2 separate regions of the Homo sapiens genome follow, and region 2 is linked to region 1. The links are contacts of gene promoters, found by promoter capture Hi-C in blood cells and fetal thymus (Javierre and others, 2016). All regions are on one chromosome and are shown on one strand. Each heading gives the region's core, a stretch centred on a gene start or on the middle of the fragment in contact. The rest is flanking DNA. Distances are from core to core; before and after follow the strand shown.

Region 1 (3,790 bases), core at 594-3,093:
TAAATGTTTGTTGACTATCTATAACCTGATATCATTATATAGTCAGCCACAAGTGTGACTGTTACCATTCTTCATCCCCTCTGAGTGGCCCAAATAAATATGCAAATGAGAGAATTATATCTGAGAGCCTACATATGTGACCCAGATTCATGCCCAAGTCTGAAGAGATTCTGAACCCACATGTAACATGTAATGAAGGCATTGGATTGCCTCCTGTCTTACCTTGATCATGCATGTGCAGTCATGATCTACTGGAAAAGGGATGGAATTCAAAGCATTTAACCATAGGTTTGGCATGGGCATTGGCCAATTCCAGCAGAAGCAGGCAGCACAGGAGGCTCCTTATGGTACCAGCATTGCCTCTTTACTTCCATGGTTGTGTTGCTGGGTTGTTGGGGATCTTAGAGGAGAACTAGGCTATTGGTGGAGTCGTGGGGGACACTTAGAGGGCTCACAGCAGCTGCCTTTTATCAACTAGGACTGAACATTTTCATTATTTTAACAGCAAATACAATCCCATCAGAGCATGCTGGTTGAATGCCAGTCCTACTCCAGAGTGGCACCTATCTGCTTCCCCAGTCTTCAGATGTTTCTAATTTAACTTGAACATTGTAAGAAGAAAAAATGTAAGCTGCAGATGTCAGGATTGAAGCTAGACATATAGAGCTGAAAGCCATTACAAATTAGGAGGAAGAAAGGCTCTTTTCTCACAGTCTGTGGAGAAAGATGTTTGACCTGGGGCTTTGGTGGTGTAGCTTGCAGGCAAAAAGATGAATAAGTGGGCTGGGTGAGGTGGCTCATGCCTGTAATCCCAGCACTTTGGGAGGCCAAGAGGGGAGGATTGCTTGAGCCCAAGAATTCAATACCAGCCAAGGCAATATAGTGAGACACCACTTCTACCAAAAAAAAAAAAAAAAAAAAAAATTAGCTGGGCATGGTTGCACTGACCCATAGAACCAGCTACTTGGGAGGCTGAGGTGGGAGGATTGCTTAAGCCTGGGAGTTTGAGACTGTAGTGAAACATGTTCACACCACTGCACTCCAGCCTGGGAGACAGAGTGAGCCCCTCTCTGGAAAAAAAAAAAAAAAAAGATGAATAAGGGTACTTACTGGCCTAACAGAGTTGGGTGCCATGTGGCTGGGGTGCTTTGCCTGGGAGAAAGGAGGACAAAGGACACCTGGGGTCCCCTTTACGGGAGGTGAATAATCTCCCTGCTGGGTGGCCCCCCACCTAACTCCCTTCACACACTGACAAAAACCTGGCCAAGAAAGAATCCTTTGTCCTGGGACTTCTGAGGCTGAGGGGGGAGGGGAGAAGGCTACAGGTGAAAGGACACATCAAAGCAGTCAGTTGCCCCTCCTCCTCCAAATAGTTCCCCTGCCCTTGTTCCCAGAGCCCAGGTTTTCTGTAAATGAAGGCTATACCCTAAACGTCCAACTGCCTAGACAGCTGGGAAGCTAGACACCTGGTCCTTACCTTCAGCTGCCTTCCACCTTGATATGACTCAGTTTCCCTGTCCCTAGGAGAGCCGTGGGGACACAAGGCGACGACAACCTGTATAAAGTTTAAAGGTCACATTCGAGTGGACCATCAGGTTGGAATTCGTCAAATGCATGGGAGAAACGCAGACCTGGCTGGACTCCTGGGCTGAAAAGGAGGGCTGGGAGAGGCTTGGAGCCATGTGTGCCCCCGCTGGCCAGGAGCAAGGTGGGGGCGGGGTGTGGGCAGAAACCACATCGGGCTCAAGTTTCCTCTCTTGGCCGAAAGGGGCAGGAGGAGAGGAGAGCCACGGGGAAAGGGGAGGGTTGGAGGAAGGACTGAGAACTCAGGCCGAGGGCTTCAGACGCTGGTGCGCCTGCTTGGGGCTCCTGTGCTCAGCTCAGCCTGAGCTTCCACACTCAGCGCTCAGCAATGGCCCGGGGGCGGGGCGCGGTCCTCGCAGATTCTCAAAGGTAGCCGGGATCCTCGTCCAGCAGTGTCAGCTCAGGCTCAGCCTCCCCAGAGACAACACCGGGAGCCTCATCTCTCTCCTCACCCTGCTGTGACTCCACCACAGGTGCCTGAAAGGCAGGGTGTGTGTGGGGGGGGCGGATTCCAGTGAGATCCGAGGGGCAGGCTGGGGGGTGAAGGAGGTGAGGGGGGAAAATAACCAACTTTCGGTATCCTAGGAGACCTCAGACTTTCTAGATTGCCCCTGGTTTAGGAATCTGACATATTTGGGAACTCCTCTAGGAGAAGACCTAAGTGGTTTCTTGGGTGCTCTGGGATCCTTGGGGTGGAGGCTGTGAATGGGGATCAGAGAGGGGTCTCCAGAGGCAAGGCACCGCTGAGGGGCTGGGGAGTAGCCAGGAGGAATCCTTCAACTGGTGGGCTACCCTGAGGGAACCAATAGACTACCCTTTCCCCAACTCCATTCCATTACTCTGCCCTGTCTAGGCAGCTGAGAAGGTTTAGGGAAAGCTGAGGAATTGGAAACACTGGATATCTGAACCTCTGAGAAGTGTTGCAAGGTGCGGGGGTTGGATGGGAGATTGCCTCTGGGTTGTTGGCTCCTTTGCCCTTTCTCTTCTCTGTGCCCAGGGGCAGTAGAGATCAGCTGGACCTGGAGGGAGAAGGAAGACATCCCAACCCCAGCATAGTTGCTTCTAACTGGAACTCTTGGCTGCTTGGGAAATAGGGGCTTGGGAAGCAGTGGAAGAGAAGAGAGGAGGTATCAGAACTGCTGGGGCTGGGATCCCCTAGACATCGGTACCAAAGGACTGGAGTTTGGGGTCCAGGGATGAAGTGACACAATAGCAGAAACTCGTCCCCCTCTTCTTTGTTCTCACACATTTGTTTGAGTCATGCATGTCCCTAGGGCACTGAGCTCACTATGCTTAAATCTCTCTCCCTCCTTTTTTTCCCCTTCATTCTGTCTCATCTCTGTGTGTCTCTCTCTCTTCGGGAGTTCTCCCTAATCTTTCTAAATAGGTTGCTTACCGGTTAACCAATACCCCAAGTTTTACTAATCCCTCCTCATCCTTTCACTGCACCTATTGACACCTGGAGAGGTGAGGTGGTCAAATAAGCCTCAGAAAAGGGATCCTGAGGCAAGCCCCCTCTCATCGTTCCCCCTCGTTAAGGAAGTTAAGAGCCCTGGGGCAGCAGCTAAGGCCAAATGTATTCCTCTCTCCATCATCCCTCTCCGAATAGTCCTCACTCTGTATTCCTAATCATGAAGCTCCGTATCATTCTGTGAGTACTTAGGGATTATGATAAAAATCTTTCTGGGTAGGACCACCAGGCTAAGAGTAAGGAGGATGGACTTTAGTCCCTGGTGACAACCCCATTTCTACCTAATCCATAATGTTGGGGAGTAAGAGAAGGAACAGACAACCCAGTGGGAGTAAGATGGTGGTGTGACCCCAAAATGCAAAAGCTAAACTGTAAAGTGGGAGCTTCTTATTGTAAAAGAAAGGGAACACAGGGAAGCCCACTTCACTTTCCCAGTATCTCCCCAGTTTCTATACCCTCTATGGTGTTCTATTTGATCCAATTCTATCTATCTCCCTGATCTATCCCACTGCCTGCCAGCTCTGCTGTCCTCTGAAAGGTAGGCTCTGGAAACCCAGAGGGACCCTATGCCTGGTGTATAGAACACCATCCATCCTTGAGCGTCTAGGGAAAAGCATCCTGCTCCACCTGCCACCTGGTACAAACTTGCTACTGCACCCAAGAGCTGGTTGGAATGGATCCAGAGGTTCTCCTCAACTCTCTCTCCCCCAAACTCCTGCCTCCCCTTGCTCCCCT
Region 2 (3,790 bases), core at 368-2,867, 200 kb before region 1:
GGGTCTGAACAAGTCTGCAGAGAGAAACCATATATATTTCAACCCTTTCTCCTCCTCCTCAGAAACATACCTCTTCTTGCAACATTCATTCTCATAATCTGTCTTAGGAAAAGGCAACCTGGGAACTAATTTAAAAAGCATGAGAGGCTGGGCGCAGCGGCTCACACCTGTAATCCCAGCACTTCGGGAGGCCGAGGCAGGCAGATCACAAGGTCAGAAGTTCGAGACCAGCCTGGCCAACATGGTGAAACCCCGTCTCTACTAAAAATACAAAAATTAGCTGGGCATGGTGGTGCACAACTGTAGTCCCAGGTACTTGGGAGGCTGAGGCAGGAGAATCGCTTGAACCCGGGAGGCGGAGGTTGCAGTGAGCCAAGATCGTGCCACTGCACTCCAGCCTGGGCGACAGAGCGAGACTCCGAAAATAAATAAATAAATAAATAAATAAATAAATATAAAAATAAAAAGCATAAGAGTAGGTCAAGAAAAAATTCCAAGACATTAAGCCAAGTATCTAAGAGCGAAATAACAACCTAGGCATTTTGTCTTGATGGGTAGAGTTTAATGCCTGCTTGGCCCCAGCACAAAGAGGAAGCTGTTTCCCCGCCCCTCAACTGAAGCCGGAAGGAACAAGAAAAGCAGCTGCTCAGGAGTTAGACTTTGTACAAGATTCAGTGTCACAATTTTGTTCACTATGTAAGTATCTTATCCCAAAGGGCATTTACAGGATTCATGGTGACAGAGAAACCGTGTTCCTGGTGATTTGTTTTATTACAAAAAACACAAAAGCTCCCTCCCCCAAAGTCCCCTATTTTCTATGCCAGGAACTCCCCATAAACACCCCTGTCTTTATCTCTTTACTTCCTATGGTTTGCCCAGCCCCTAGCCCACCTCTTGTCACTAGCTTCTTTCAATTCCTCAGTTCCTATTCTAAACACACACACACACACACACACACACACACACACAACCACCACAGCATGAACTACCCCAGGAGCAGCTCAGAAGACACCTACCCTTTTTAATCTAAATACCTAATTATCTATTTTTTTTCCTTTTAGGGAAGCACTTCCACAGAAAAGTTTTTGCCAGAGACCCAGCTTCAGATCTCTTCAGAGTGTAGAGGATCAACAATAAATAATAAAACCCAGAAGGTTGGACCCCAGACCTTTATCCAAGTCACTTGGAATACCACTGTTGTTTCCCCATCCCCACCCTCACCCCCATCCCCAGAGGAAAGCAGATGCCATCGTTGGGGCAAGAATCATATCTAGAAAGGGGAAGCCTTGAAAAGAAGCCTCCACTTCTGCCTTCCTGAACTGGCTGGCCTGTATAATCTGAGTGATTATGTAGATTATAGTCAGTGGAAAAGCAGTGGAAAAAAAGGTGGGAGTCTAACTGCTGCACCTGCCGCCTCAGGGTTCCCTGCCCTATTATTGTTGGAATAATCAGTACTAGTCCCATTGTTCATGCTTACCTTCTTGATGTTATACATACGGATGAGAACCCCCTGACCGCGATCATTCAGGATAGTGAGCTTCTCTGCTAATTTATGCTGGTAAGCAGATGTCAAAGACATGATGGCCACTGAGAGAGGAGCACCAGACAGCAATGTCTGATCTCCCCAAACACTTTCAGCTTAGATGGTGACACCCTCTGGCGGAGGGACCCAGCCTGGTTGGTGCACTGGTCTTCTGTTGCCTCTGCAATTGGCTCATGGGTGAAATCAGTCATTATGGCTCACAGGCCCTCAGAGCCTTCTTGTGCTTCCTCTTGCACACTCAGCAGGGGAGACTTCCTCTTTCTGGCTGTGCAGCACTTTTGGTAAGGCTATGAAGTGGGTGGAGCTGAGGAGAAGGACAGGCTTTCAAGGCTCTTCACAGACTGCACCAACCTTTTTGGTCTTATGCCCCCATAAGTGTCCTAGACAAAGCTGGGCGTGGTGGCTCACACCTGTAATCCCAGCACTTTGGGAGGAAAAGGTGGGAAGATCCATTGAGCTCAGGAGTTCCAGACCAGCCTGGGCAACATAGCAAGACCCCATCTCTATAAAAAATAAAAATTAAAAGCTGTAAGCTAGATAAACAAGTATCTACCACCCCACCCCTGTACACCTCTATATTTTCCTTCTTTTATATCCAAGAATGCCTATGAACCTTTGGCCTCATCATGTTTTAGTACCCAGATCAAATCCCATCTTCTCCTAAAGACCCCATCAATGTCAAATATTATATTGTATTATATTTTATATTGTCAAATACATATATTCCTTGTTATATGTTTATAGTGTACGTTGTATCTCCCCCAACTACAGCATAAGCTCCTTAATGACAGGAATTGTACCTAATACTTTTTTTTCTTTTTTTTTTTTTTTTTGAAACAGAGTTCCACTCTTGTTGCCCAGGCTGGAGTGCAATGGCATGATCTCTGCTCACTACAACCTCCACCTCCTGGGCTCAAGCAATTCTCCAGCCTCAGCCTCTGGAGTAGCTGTGGTTACAGGTGCCCACCACCACGCCTTGCTAATTTTTGTATTTTTAGTAGACATGGGGTTTCACCGTGTTGGCCAGGCTGCTCTCGAACTCCTGACCTCAGGTGATTTACCCGCCACAGCCTCCCAAAGTACTGGAATTACAGGCATGAGCCACCACACCCGGCCTCTAATACTTTTTTATATTTCTCACAATGCTCTACTACAGTGCATTGTACTTCTACAGTACATAATAATTCTCAAAGTAGTTCTCAAGAAGTACATAGTAATTCTCAAAATGTGATCCAGCAGCATCAGCATCACCTGGAAACTTGTTAGAGATGCAAATTCTTAGGACCCGCCCCAGACCACTGAATCCAAAATTCTGGGGTGGGTCCAGGCACTCTGTGTTTTAACAAACCCTCCAGGTGATTCCAATGCACACTCAAGTTTGAGAACCAGTGCTCTAGTACCATGGTATTTATGGATGCTTGAGAAACAGATCAATCCCTGTCCTCTGAGATTAGCATTGGTAGGTAGGCGAGTCTGTTGTGGGGCCTAGAAGTCTGTACTTATATAAGCACTGTTGTAGGAGGTTTTGGTACAAATATTCCATTCTGAAAAACACTGATCTAGAACAATACCTCTTGGACACAGTAGTCACTCAATAAATATGCTGGTTTATTTGTTGAATTATTAAGACTAAATTAGGAAATAGGCCCCATGAAGAAGAACCAAATTAATCAAGATTAAAAAGAGGAAATTAGTAATCACCCTTAAATCTTAGAGACTTGAATGAATTTTAGCATTAAAATATTCTTGCCATTCCAATGAGGCCTTAACTCCGTAACTCAAGAAAATTTTCAACTCTATTTCAACTTTCTTTCAAGACACAAAGCAAAAGGTCCTAGGAAAAATTATAAATCAAAAAGAGTTCTCTTCATTTCCACCACCTTGCCAATTCCTTTTCTCAGGTTTTTAATCATTCCCATTTTCCGTATCCAGAGTTCCCATTGTCCCAATAAATTCTAGGGAGTGGGAGAAGAGAGACAAGGCTGATCAGCATTATTACTTAAGAAGTTGGGGCCAGGTGAAGTGGCTCATGCTTATAATCCCAGCACTTTGGGAGGCAAAGGTAGAAGGATTGCTTGAAGCCAGGAGTTCAAGACCAGCCTAGGCAACATTGTGAGACCTTCCCCCACCCCTCTACAGATAAAATAAAATAAATTAGCCTGGTGTGGTGGTACATGGCTGTAGGCCCAGCTCCTCAGGAGGCTGAGGTGGGATGGTCGCTTGAGCCCAGGAGTTCAACACCGCACT

Evidence for each region. The method cuts DNA at HindIII sites, captures the fragments that hold promoters and counts their contacts. A CHiCAGO score of 5 or more calls a contact.
Region 2: the fragment with the promoter of NCKAP1L here is called in contact with the fragment with the promoter of NFE2 in region 1 in 9 of 17 cell types (neutrophils, total CD4 T cells, total CD8 T cells and 6 more); the score reaches 10.6 in neutrophils.

Annotation. Positions count from the first base shown.
Region 1 is chr12:54,299,068-54,302,857 of GRCh38, reverse strand. It overlaps NFE2 (nuclear factor, erythroid 2), which reads left to right and starts at 1,843. Exons shown (of 3, transcript NM_001136023.3): 1 at 1,843-2,057. RefSeq lists an enhancer at 956-1,696 and a cis regulatory region at 1,097-2,071. The HindIII fragment of the contact is 10,882 bases long and covers 1-3,790 here.
Region 2 is chr12:54,495,579-54,499,368 of GRCh38, reverse strand. It overlaps NCKAP1L (NCK associated protein 1 like), which reads right to left and starts at 1,617. Exons shown (of 31, transcript NM_005337.5): 1 at 1,478-1,617; 2 at 1-14. The coding sequence starts at 1,579. RefSeq lists enhancers at 1,426-1,485, 1,596-1,655. The HindIII fragment of the contact is 9,210 bases long and covers 1-3,790 here.